Linked DNA regions of Homo sapiens: region 1 is linked to region 2. The links are contacts of gene promoters, found by promoter capture Hi-C in blood cells and fetal thymus (Javierre and others, 2016). All regions are on one chromosome and are shown on one strand. Each heading gives the region's core, a stretch centred on a gene start or on the middle of the fragment in contact. The rest is flanking DNA. Distances are from core to core; before and after follow the strand shown.

Region 1 (6,573 bases), core at 3,617-6,116, 580 kb after region 2:
TACTCCAGCCTAGGCAGCAGAGTAAGGCCCCGTCTCTAAATAAATATATAAATAAATTTTAAAATTATAAATAAATATTATAAATAAAGTTTTAAAAGGGTAGTAAATTATGAAAATGTGACAAGACAAAGGGGTTTGGGCTAGAGCAGTTAATGGTGGAAAAATAACTAGAAAAATAAGGGTTCATTTAACAAGGTTTGTTTGTACATTTTTTCCTCAGCTTTGACTCCCTGTCTTCTGGTGATAAGAATTGTACGCTCTAGGGCTGGGCGCGGTGGCTCAGGCCTGTAATCCCAGCACTTTGGGAGGCAGAAGCGGGTGGATCACTTGAGCTCAGGAGCTGGACACCAGCCTAGGCAACTTAGTGAAACCCTGTGTCTACCAAAAATACAAAAAAATTAGCTGGGCATGGTGGTGGGCGCCTGTGATCCCAGCTATTTTGGGGACAAGGCGAGAGGATCGCTTAAGACTAGGAGGTGGAGGTTGCAGTGAGGTTGCAGGAAGTGGATATCACACCACTTCGCTCCAGCCTGGGCAACAGGATGAGACCCTGTCTAAAAAGAATTTTACTTTCTTCCTGGGATGGGGAGGGCATCTTCCATATGGGGGTTTATCTCGTTTTCCAGAGAAAAGAGGGAGGTCAGAGTGCTTTTCCTGCACCTACTGTTTTTCAAGTGCACTTAGCTGAAACAATCCATATGCCAAAGTGGCATATTTTGGAGTGGTGTCATCTGCCACCCTCAAAATGAAAGAAATGGTTCATAACAGCTCTAATAATTGTTCAACAACCGGCAACAATGCAAAAAACAGGTCACTAACAGGTGAAAAGATAAACAAAGTGTGGGACATTCATATAACAGAATACAACTGAATAATAATCATGCCTATAATCCAAGCACTTTGAAAGGCCAAGGCAGGTGGATTGCTTGAGTCCAGGAGTTCGAGACCAGCCTGGGCAACATGGCAAAACCTTGTCTTTACAAAAAACACAAAAATTAACTGGGCGTGGTGGTGCACAGGTGTAATCCCCGCTACTCGGGAAGCTGAGGTGGGAGGACTGCTGGAGCCTGGGAAGTTGAGGCTACAGTGAACCATGATGGTGCCACTGCACTCCAGTCTGGGTGACAGAGTGAGACCCCATCTCAAAAGAAAACAAAAAAGAAACAAACTGCTGACATATCCAACAACACGAGTGAGTTCCTTTTTTTCTTTTTTTTTTTTTTTGAGACAGAGTCTGGCTCTGTTGCCCAGGCTGGAGTGCAATAGCGTGATCTCGGCTCACTGCAACCTCCGCCTCCTGGTTTCAAGTGATTCTCCTGGCTTGGCCTCCCAAGTAGCTGGGATTACAGGCGCACACCAACACATCCAGCTAATTTTTGTATTTTTAGTAGAAATGGGGTTTCACCATGTTGGCCAGGCTGGTCTTGAACTTCTGACCTCAAGCAATCCACCCGCCTTGGCCTCCCAAAATGCTGGGAACATGAGTGAGTTTCAAACATCTTATGCTGGGGAAAGAAGCCCAGCTCAAAAGGCTACACGTTGTATGATTCAGCTTATATGACTTTCTGAAAAAGACAAAGTTACAGGAACCAAAAACAAATCAGTTAGGGCCAGGGGCTGGAGTAGGGGACAGAGCACAAAAGGGCAAGAGAAAAATTTCTTTTTTTTCTTATTTTTTTTTTTTTAAGACTGAGTCTTGATCTGTCACCCAGGCTGGAGTGCAGTGGCACAATCTTGGCTCACTGCAGCCTCCGCCTCCCGGGTTCAAGTGATTCTCCAGCCTCAGCCTCGCTAGTAGCTGGGACTTCAGGCGTGTGCCACTATGTCTGGCTAATTTTTGTATTTGTAGTGGAGACTACAAGGGGTCTCACCGTGTTGCCCAGGCTGGTCTCAAACTCCTGTCTTCACGTGATTCGCACACCTCGGCCTCCCAAGGTGCTAGGATTACAGGCATGAGCCATCACACTCGGCTACTGGTAAGAGGAAATTTCTTAGGGTGATGGAAATAATTGTCTTGATTATGGTCATGTTTTAATGATATACCTGTATGTCAAAACATGCAATTTCGGCCAGGCATGGTTTAAATATGAGCAGTTCATGTTCAGTCAATTACATCCAACAAAGCTGGGAAGGAGGGAAGTAAGAGAGGGAAGGGATGAAAGGAGAGAAAAAGAGAAAACTAATGTGGCAATCATGAACAAAATGAAAGATATATACATCCTGTGACTCAATGTCTTTGTTTTTTTTTTTTTTTTGAGATGGAGTTTCACTCTTGTTGCCCAGGCTGGAGTGCAGTGGCGCGATCTCGGCTCACTGCAACCTCTGCCTCCCGGGGTTCAAGTGATTCTCCTGCCTCAGCCTCCTGAGTAGCTGGGATTACAGGTGCCTGCCACCATGCCCAGCTAATTTTTGTATTTTTAGTAGAGACAAGGTTTTACCATGTTGGTCAGGCTAGTCTTGAACTCCTGACCTCAGGTTATCCACCCGTCTTGGCCTCCCAAAGTGCTGGGATGGGCCAGGCGCCGTGGCTCACGCCTGTAATCCCAGCACTTTGGGAGGCCAAGGCAGGCAGATCACGAGGTCAGGAGTTCAAGACCAGCCTGGCCAACATGGTGAAACCCCATCTTTACTAAAAATACAAAAATTAGCCAGGCATGTTGGCGCACACCTGTAATCCTAGGTACTCAGGAGGCTGAGGCAGGAGAATTGCTTGAATCCAGGAGGTGGAGGTTATAGTGAGCCGAGATCACGCCACTGCACTCCAGCCTGGGCCACAGAGCAAGACTCTGTCTCAAAAAAAAAAAAAAAAAAGCAAAAACAAAAAAGTGCTGGGATTACAGGTGTGAGCCACCATACCCGGCCATCATTTATTGTTTTTTATTTTATTTTATTTTATTTTTAGAGACAGGATTTCACTATGTTGCCCATGCTAGCCTCAAACTCCTGGGCTCAAGCAGTCCTCCCACCTCGGCCTCCCAAAGTGCTGGGGTTACTGGGGTGAGACACTGTACTCACAAATGTCATTTTTTGAAAACTATGCTTCACTAAAGATCCAGTCTTAAGGATACTGATTCAGGGACATTTACTGCATCATCACAGTGGCAAAACTCAGGAAAGTCCAGGAATTGTCCATCAGTAGGATAACCGTTGATTATACTATGGCAGAGTTGCACTATGAATCATGTAGCTACTAAAAACAAAAGTTAGGTATACGTGTATAGATGGTTAAGTGGAAATAGCAAGTTGCACGGTAACTGTATAGTATGATTCCATCCTGTGTGTATTCTAGTTTGCTCCAGCACTGAAAAAGGGTCTCACAAGAGGGCAGTTCTACTGGTTACACTTGACGGTTACCAGGGTAACACTGCCCCCTAGGGGATATCCTAGAGATCCCTCTACAGACAGCCCCTGACTTGATTATGATAGGTTTATCGGGATGTAACCCCATCGTAAATCAAAGAGCATCTGTATTCGAAATACATTTCATTACAAATTATCTTCCTGAACACTCTAATGCAACAGCTCTTATCAAGGTCCGCAGGGACCAGACCCTTGCCAAACTCAACTGTCAATTCTCTTTCCTCATCTTCTTCAACTCAGGGACACGTGACACAGCTAACCCCTCTCTCTCTCCATCTTGAAATATCTTTTTCAGGCCAGGTGTGGTGGCTCATGCCTGTAATCCCAACAATTTGAGAGGCCGAGGTGGATGGATCACTTGAGGTCAGGAGTTCGAGACCAGCCTGACCAACATGGTGAAACCCCATCTCTACTAAAAATACAAAAATTAGCCAGGCATGGTAGTGCGCACCTGTAATCACAGCTACTTAAGAGGCTGAGGCAGGAGGATCGCTTGAACCCGGGAGGCTAAGGTTGCAGTGAGCCCATATGGCGTCACTGCACTCCAGCCTGGGCGACGGAGCGAAACCCTGTCTCAGAAAAAAACAAAACCAAAAATAAAAACCAATAAAAGTCCTTGGCCGGGCGCGGTGGCTCACGCCTGTAATCCCAGCACTTTGGGAGACCGAGGCGGGTGGATCGCGCCTGTAATCCCAGCACTTTGGGAGGCCGAGGCGGGTGGATCACGAGGTCAGGAGTTCAAGACCAGCCTGGCCAAGATGGTGAGACCCCATCCCTACTCAAAAAAAAAAAAAAAAAAAAAACTACAAAAATTAGCCGGGCGCGGTGACCGGCGCCTGTAATCCCAGCTACTCGGGAGGCTGAGGTAGGAGAATCACTTGAACCTGGGAGGCGGAGGTTGCAGTGGGCCGAAATCGAGCCACTGCACTCCAGCCTGGGCGACAAAGTGAGACTCCGTCTCAAAAAAATAAAATAAAATAAAACAAAAATAAAAAATAAAAATCCTTAACACGGCCCACGAGGCTCCATGGAATCTGGCCCCAGCCTGTCCACTCAACCTCATCTACTACAATCTGGGCACTCAAAATGTGGTCTGCGGATCAGCAGCATGGAAGTCACCTGGGAGCGAGTTAGAACAGCAGCCTCTCAGGCCTCCCTCTTCATCTGCTGGATCAGAACTTGAACTTTTTAGTTTGAGTAGAGCGTCTTCCATGCTTACAAGCTTCCCCTTCACCCTGATTCAGCCATAAGGTTATTTCATATTCCTCACTTGCCGCTCCTGGAAACTGACCAGAAGTACTGGCATCGCGCGTAGGTACAGGCAAATACGCACCGGCTCTTGCGCAGGCGCACTGCGTCTCCGTCGGAGCGCTGCTATTTGAGTACGCGTGCGCTCAGAGGAGCGGCGAAGGAGGCAGGGCCTATTTGCTGGGCTGTCCGGGATGGGGGTGGCCGGGACCTGAAAGTAGGAGAGGGGTTTCCGCTTCCGGCAGGAGTCGGAAGTCACTATCTCCCGGGTGAACGGAGCTTTCGCAGCTGGAGAAGGTGAGTGCTGGTGCGGCTCGTGCGAGTGGGCGTTGGGGGTGGGCAGGACTGGAAGTTCCTCTACTCCGTGCGTTTACGGGGTCCTGGAGGAGGCTCCTGGGACCTCGAGCTTGGGGGAAAGCCGGTCGGGGAGACTGACTCCCCCCGACCCCATCCTTCCAAGCGCGACTACCGGGACGCCTGGCTCCTCCCGGCGGCCGTCGGGAGGCGATGCCGAAGCTTTAGTGAGTCTGGAGGAACAGCCAACCCCCCACCTCTTGGGTACCAGCAGATTCGGGGGATGACTCCTCTGCCATCCCCTTTTGGCGCTCTTGGACTTAACGTTGTCACAGGACAGGCTGAGGCCTCTGCATTCCTTGTGCAAGCCAGACCCCATTCATGGGATGGGGAGACTGTAGTCCCTGGGCAAAATGAGCTTCTGGGGCTCATCCGTAGATTTTGTTTGGACTTTTTTTTTTTTTTTTGAGAGTGAGTCTTGCTGTGTCGCCGAGGCTGGAGTGCAGTGGCGCGATCATAGCTCATTGCAGCCTCGACCTCCTGGGCGCAAGCTTCCCACTTCAGCTTGCCGAGTAGCTGGGACTACAGACTCAAGGCTAATTTTTGTAATTTTGTAGAGATGAAGGGTCTCACTCTGTTTCCCAGGCTGGTCTGGAACTCCTGGCTTCAAGCGATCTTCCCACCTGGGCCTCCCAAAGTGATGAGATTACGGGCGTGACGTCCCAAAGTGATAGAGTTACAAGCAAACTGATTGAGTGATTTATTCAGTAATGGTTATTGCTGGGCACGGTGGCTCATGCTTGTAACGCCAGCACTTTGGGAGGCCGAGGCGGGAGTATCTCTTGAGCCCAGGAGTTCCAGACCAGGCTGGGCAACATGGTGGGTCCCTGTCTCTACAAAAAATACAAAAATTAGCTGGGCGTGGTGCCGCGGCTAATTTATATTTCAGAGGTAGAGGGGCAGGGGGAGGATCGCATAAGGAATGTGTGAGGGAAAAAGACATTGAGGATGAATCCAAGGTTTCTGATTTGATTATCCGGAAAGATGGAATTGCTGTTAGCTGAGATGAGGAAGACTGGAAGAGCAGGTTGCAATGTCAGGGGCTTGGTTTTGGACATGATATGTTTAATCTTAGGTGGAAGTTAGACATCAGGTGGAGGTGTGGCTGAGGCAGATAGATCAGAGTCTGCAGTTCAGACTCAAGGCTGGAGAAGCAGGTGGCCTCAGTGTAGAGTAGGCATGAAGCCCTAAGACTGGGTGAAATCTTCATGTGGTGAGTATAGCCAGAAAGGAGAGGATCCAACAATTAAACTCATGGGCTTTTTGCTCTGTTGCCCAGGCTGGAGTGCCTCGGCTCACTGCAACCTCCGCCTCCCAGGTTCAAGTGATTCTCCTGCCTCAGCCTCCCGAGTAGCTGGGATTACAGGCGTGCACCACCATGCCTGGCTAATTTTTGTATTTTTAGTAGAGATGGGGTTTCACCATGTTGGTCAGGCTGGTCTCGAACTCCTGACCTCGTGATCTGCCCACCTCGGCCTCCCAAAGTGCTGGGATTACAGGCGTGAACCACTGCACTCAGCCTTTTTTTTTTTTTTTTTTAGATGAAGTTTTGCTCTGTTGCCCAGGCTGGAGTGCGGTGGCACAATCTCAGCTCACTGAAACCTCCGACTC
Region 2 (6,596 bases), core at 2,687-5,186:
CTAAACTCTTTTTTTTTTTTTTTTTTTTTTTTTTTTTTTTTTTTGAGACAGAGTCTCACTCTGTTGCCCAGGCTGGAGTGTGTTGGTGTGAGCTCGGCTCAGTGCAACTTCCACCTCCTGGCTTCCCGGGTAGCTGGGATTACGGGCACCCACCACCACGCTAGGCTAATTTTTTATATTTTTAGTAGAGACAGGATTTCACCATGTTGGTCAGACTGGTCTTAAACTCCTGACCTCAAGTGACCCACACCAGTGTCTCCCAAAGTGCTGGGATTACAGGTGTGAGCCACTGCACCCGGCCTTCTAATCTTTTTCCAGCCTTCAAATTTTTTTTTTTTTTTTTTTTGATACAGAGTCTTGCTCCAGGTTGGAGTGCAGTGGTGTGCTGTCGGCTCACTGCAGCCTCCAACTCCCAGGTTCAAGCGATTCTCCTTTCTCAGCCTCCTGAGTAGCTGGGACTATAGGCGTGTGCCCCCACACCCAGCTAATTTTTGTATTTTTAGTAGAGACAGGGTTTCACCATGTTGACCAGGCTGGTCTCGAACTTCTGACCTCAGGTGATCCACCTGCCTTGGCCTCCCAAAGTGCTGGGATTACAGGCGTTAGCCACTGCGCCCGGCCATTTTTGTATTTTTAGTAGAGACGGGTTTCTCCATGTTGGCCAAGCTGGTCTTGAACTCCTGACCTCAAGTGACCCACCTGCCTCAGCCTCCCAAAATGCTGGGCTTACAGGTGTGAGCTACTGCGCCAGGCCTAATATCTTTTTTTTTTTTTGAGACAGAGTCTTGTTCTGTGGCCAGGCTGGAGTGCAGTGGTGCAATCTTGGCTCACTGCAACCTCCGCCTCCCAGGTTCAAGAGATTCTCCTGCCTCAGCCTCCTGAGTAGCTGGGACTACAGGCATGCGCCACCACGCCCAGCTAATTTTTGTATTTTTAGTAGAGATGGGGTTTCACCATGTTGGCCAGGATGGTCTCAATCTCTTGACCTCATGATCTGCCACCTTGGGCTCCCAAAGTGCTGGGATTATAGGCACCACGCCTGGCCCTAATCTCTTCTCAAAGTACTTTTTTCTTTAATGAATGTCTTAAATAAAAACTTTTTTCTAACCACAAACTTTTTTTTAAATTATTTTATTATGTAATTTTTTTTTAGAGAGTTGGTCTTGCTGTTTGGACCCGGCTGGAGTGCAGTGATATTCACAAGTGTGATCTTAGTGCATGAGAGCTTCATATTCCTGGGCTCACAATCCTTCTACCTCAGCCTGCCAAGTAGCTGTCACTACAGGTACCAGCTGCTGTGCCTGGCTTCCACCTTTTTTTTTTTTTTTTCTTTAATCAGTTCCTTTTAAAGACCAAAGAAAACCTGTCCTCTTGTGTGGCCTGAGTTGATCTATGAACATTATTCACTATGACCCAGAAAATCCCACGAAGTCGTGCATGTTAGAAGGATGAAACCCTCATGTTCACTGTAAACTGTGAAGGTGCTCAGGCCATCACAGGTATGCCTATATGAAAAGCCACCAAGTATCTGAAATATTTTCTTTTACAGAAATTATGTGTACCATTTCAGTCTTAGAAAGTGGAGTTGGTCGCTGTACGCAAGACAGACATTGGGGCTGGACTCACCATCAGTGGCCCCGAAAAGGTACTGAAATTTGCTTACAAGTGCAGAGTTATGCTGAACTTAAGGGTATAGATGTAGATTCCCTGGTTATTGAGCACATCCAGGGAAAAGGCACCCATAATGTACCACCTGACTTACAGAACTCATGGGCAGATGAACCCATCCACAAACTCCCCTGCCACATCCAGATGATGCTTAGTGAAAAGAAACACCTTGTTCCAAAAGCAGAAAAGGAGGATGCACGGAAGAAAAAGATACCCCAGAAGAAACATAAACTTAAGAGACAAACAAATTCAGCCAAAAGAAAATGCAAATAAAAGTTCAAAACAAAACAAAACAAAAAAACCTCTAAAATTCATAAAACACAAAATGACAAACTCTATTAAATATGCCCCTATGATATCTCTTAGATAAAAGTTGGCCGTAATAGAGAAAATGAAGATAGGTGTTGGTGACTGGCAGATTCTGGGTCTACGATGAATCAGAGAAGGATGGTTTTCACTTTGTTTTACATTTTTTTAATGCTTGATGTTGACTTGGTAGAAAGATGATAATAAAGAGATTCTTCTGTCTATGTGTTTCTTTTAGATTACTCATGTGGACTGAAGAAAAAAAATTAAATTTGTTAAAGAAAGTGAGTTTGATTTAGGATTGTGACTGAGGACAATAGCCTGGAAGCAGTTCTGACAGATGGCTGCTATGTAATATTTTGGTTCACAGTTTATAAGAGACATGTGGGCCCTGTGCTCTATCTTGTTTTTTCTTCAAAGCATAATTCTGGAGAGCTGGAGAGTCCCAGAGTCAGGAATGTTATAAAGTCAGGCTGGAAACCAGAAATAAGTAACATGACTAAACATTTGTGTGTTTTTTTGTTTTGTTTTGAGACAGAGTCTCGCTCTATTGCCCAGGCTGTAGTGCAGTGGTGCAATCTCGGCTCTCTGCAACCTCAGCCTCTTTGATACAAACGATTCTTCTGCCTCAGTCTCCCGAGTAGCTGGGATTACAGGTGGGCTCTACCACACCCGGCTAATTTTTGTATTTTTAGTAGAGACGGGATTTCACCATGTTGGTCACGCTGGTCTCCAACTCCTGATCTCAGGTGATCCAGCCACCTCGCCCTCCCAAAGTGCTGGGATTACAGGCTTGAGCCACAGCGCCCAGCCACTACTGCCTCACTTTCATGCAGTTAAATAATCTTGGACACTTCCTCCTCGACTTTATACATACACACTGGAGGAGAGCTTTGCTCGTGTGTTATTCTCGCAGTGGGATTGAGGATGTTTGTCTCATGGAAACTGATGAATGATGTGAGAAGCAGGTGAATAACCTGCAGGGGGCAGCAGAGACCGACGCCAGGGACGGGACGCTGAGGCTAGTATGGATCCTGCCAAGGAGTGAAGTGGAGTTCTGGGTGCTTCCTGGGCAGCCGCCCTCCCCTGCAGGTGGCTTGCAGCTGCTCAGAGCAGATCCAGAAAGAGTGTGGGTTCTGACATGCTGCAGCGCCCTGGAAAGCAGGAGACCCACGTGCAGGTGCACTTCAGGAGTTCTGTCCTTTCTGCGGCTGTACATCTGGAATCTGGGGCGGTTTTCGGGAGCAGTGTTTTGGGTTTGACATGCATAGAGTCCCTGGGGTCAGACTGTAATTTGCATATCTGAAGAAAATCCGTAAAGATCAAGTTCAGGGAAATAACTGTTTGGGACCTCTCCTGGAGAAGGGGCTTATGCAGTTGACAGTTTATTTAGGTCAGAAGCTTAAAATCACCAAGTGAGAGTTTTCTGCCGATGAAGATGAAGGTCTGGAAGGAGGGAGAGTTTCCACACTGTGAGGTGGGGTGAGATGTGTGAAAGCCTTGGCCATGTCTCATCCCTAATTCCGGGCCCCTGAAGGACAACTGCCTCTCCTTCTTGGTGCAGTCGTGCCTGGCCTGATCTGGGCTCCCCTTCCTGCTCTGAGGTCAGCACATCGCTCCATTGGACACTCAGTCTGGAATTCCCTGCACACACTTACAACCCTGTGCAGGACGAAGAAGCACTGACAGCCCATTGAATGAGGAAGAAGATAGTGCCCTGTGTAAAAATCAGGAGCAAATTTGGCTGAAAAGAAAATATCCAATGACCAGGGCTCAGGGAAGGAGTTGTCCCTTAGAGAGAAGCTGTGGCTAGAACCGATCAGTCCGGCTTTGCAGGGCTCGTTACCCAGGGCTTCTGCCGTCACTCAGTTCTGAGGGGGCGGGGCCTTGTACCTTGTCCAATCAGAAGCGCCGGGGCGGAGCCCGGCCAACGGTCCGTCCGGAAGGAGGAGGCCCATTCCAGCTTCTACTTTTGTTGCTATGCAGGTTGTTGTCGGGATACCAGATTTCCTACTCCGAGAGGCCCCGGGTCCCTCTGCCACAACTTCTGTCGCTCTGCCGCCTGCACCGTGACCCGCACTATTCACGGGAGCCCTAGAGAGGACACCGGGACACCCAGAAGCCGGGAAATGGTGAGTGTATGGGGCCGGAGTCCCCAGACGGGGGAGGGGCTGGGTGGAACCGGCCGGAAGCGGCTGTGGTGGGATCTGGGCCTCCTCGCCGCGCCTCCTGGATCTGGGACCCGAATCCCTCTGTCTCAGCTCGTCCCTGCGTCCCCTCGGCCGCAGGGTGCGGCTGGGCCGGCAGCCGGGACCCCGGGCGTCCTCCTGTTCTGTTCCTGCGCGGGCGACTGTGGGCCCCGACCCTGGAGCCCTCTCTGGGCAGCTCCGCGCCTGCAGCCCCGCGTCTCTTCAGATTTTGCGGGGACCACGGGAGGGTCATGGGGGAATCCTGCGGATTTTTTTTTCTGTTAAAGAGTTTGGGCCGGGCGCGGTGGACCATGCTTGTAATCCCAGCACTTTGGGAGGCCGAGGCTTGCGGATCACGAAGTCAGGAGATCGAGACCATCCAGGCTAACACAGTGAAACCCCGTCTCTACTAAAAATACAAAAAATTAGCCGGGCATGGTGGCATGCGCCTGTAGTCCCCGCTACTCAGGAGGCTGAAGCAGGAGAATCGCATGACCCCAGGAGACGAAGGTTGCAGTGAGCCGAGATCACGCCACTGCACTCCAACCTAGGGGACAGAGCGAGATTCCATCTCAAAAAAAAAAAAAAATTTAAAGAGTTTGAGCAAACAGCGATTCATGAGTGAGAAACGCCCAGTCATGATTTGTGGTTTTGGTACCAGAAAGTTTTAAGAAGAATTGCATTTTGTTAACGGTGGAGGGGGTCCAGGTTCTTGGCGTCTTGAACAAAGAATTGGACAAAACGCACAAAGCAAGGAAGGAATGAAGGGATTTAACACTCCACAGTGTGCAAGCGGGGCTGAGCACAGGGGCTCAAAGGCCCCGTTACAGAATTTTTGGGAGTTTAAATACCCCCTGGAGGATTCCATTGGTTACTTGGGGTATACTCTATGTAAAAGGAGAGGATGAAGTAAGGTTATAAAATCATTTACTTGGCTTACGCCCTATGGAGTAGGTATTTCCTTTCATAGCTGAAGTTTGAATAGGCCTTATGTTCCCTGCGTCCAGACCCTATTTTCCTGCCTCAATTTGAGTTTGATTTTGGTGTCCTTAGGTAGTTTCTTATAGCACTAAACACACTTCAGTCTAATTGCTGCTGCTTTAAATTTTTTCACACTGTCTATAGGGACTGGCTTCCTCCTGCATTTTCCTAATGTATGGGTCTCAAATCCTCCACCCTGCTACCCCGCCCTAACTCTTCAGCAGTTTGCAGTAACATCTTAAATTTTCAATTACTTTTCCGCATCTCCAAACATTAACTCCCCTTCTCCAACTCACAGTATTATCAACTTTCTTTTTTTTTTGAGACGGAGTTTCGCTCTTGTTGCCCAGGCTGGAATGCAATGGCATGATCTTGGCTCATTGCAACCTCTGCCTCCCGGGTTCAAGTGATTCTCCTGCCTCAGCCTCCTGTATCAACTTTCTTTATTGTAGAGTATATTTCTTCATCCTTTCTTTCACATAGATGCAGTATTTTAGTGGTTTATCATCTTTTCACAAGGTCATGGATAACTTTTTTTAAAATATTTGTGTTCTGTTTCTGAACATTTCACATAGAATAGAGAATAACCACTTGATACTCCAGTGAAAAACCTCTGTTCCTCTCCTCTTATCTTCGTAAGGCACAGACACCATCTCAGAATGTCTTTGGGTTGTTTCCTTTTTTTTTTTTTTTTTTGAGAGAAAGTCTCTCTTTGTAACCCAGGCTGAATTGAAGTGGCGTGGTCTTGGCTCACTGCAACCTCCGCCTCCCAGGTTCAGGTGATTCTCCTGCCCTCAGTCTCCCGAGTAGCTGGGTTTACAGGTATGCGCCACCATACCCCATGTATTTTAAGTAGAGATGGGGTTTCACCATGTTGGTCAGGCTGGTCTCGAACTCCTGAGCTCAAATGATCTGCCTGCCTCAGCCTCCCAAAGTGCTGGAATTTTACAGGCGTGAGCCACCGTGCCTGGCCTGTTTCCTTTTTGAAAACTTTACAGGGTGATGTGTCTTCAGGAGTCCCAATCTATCTTTTCCTGGTCCTGGGTTTCAGAACCGCCTGGGGCTGAACCAAAATGCCCACAGCTCCCATCTCTCCTGGCCTACTGAATATCAGCCCCTGTGTCAGTCCTCCCAGAGGATAGCCTGAGGCAGGGTGTGGGATCTCCCAAAGGAGCAACTGAATTTCCCAAATGGGAGGAGACTCCTGGTACACTCTTCATCTAGATAGCCAACCCCTTGGGATGCTCAGTTTTTCTCCCCCAGTCCCAGCTTCCATTATTTGGAGACACATAGCTGGTCAGCCAGTTGGATGTTGCTATTAAGGGAAAGGTGTAGGTGAAGTGAGCCACAGCAGAGTCATCTCAACAAAGCCATAAAGCCATGACATAACAGTGCATTATCACATCCCAGACAGATGAGGGCAGCACACCTTGCAGGGCAACACAGAGTGGG

What was found. Contacts are between HindIII fragments. The CHiCAGO score rates a contact against its expected background, and 5 or more counts as called.
Region 1: the fragment with the promoter of ELOF1 here is called in contact with the fragment with the promoter of ZNF20 in region 2 in 2 of 17 cell types (total B cells and naive B cells); the score reaches 6.8 in total B cells.

Annotation. Positions count from the first base shown.
Region 1 is chr19:11,557,523-11,564,095 of GRCh38, reverse strand. It overlaps ELOF1 (elongation factor 1), which reads left to right and starts at 4,866. Exons shown (of 4, transcript NM_032377.4): 1 at 4,866-4,905. RefSeq lists an enhancer at 3,248-3,542. The HindIII fragment of the contact is 542 bases long and covers 4,585-5,126 here.
Region 2 is chr19:12,137,690-12,144,285 of GRCh38, reverse strand. ZNF20 (zinc finger protein 20) reads left to right here and starts at 3,936. Exons shown (of 4, transcript NM_021143.4): 1 at 3,936-4,106. The coding sequence starts at 4,104. It overlaps ZNF625-ZNF20 (ZNF625-ZNF20 readthrough (NMD candidate)), which reads left to right. Exons shown (of 8, transcript NR_037802.1): 4 at 1,571-1,645; 5 at 3,961-4,106. It also overlaps the pseudogene RPL17P47. RefSeq lists silencers at 4,150-4,359, 6,065-6,167. The HindIII fragment of the contact is 6,979 bases long and covers 3,378-6,596 here.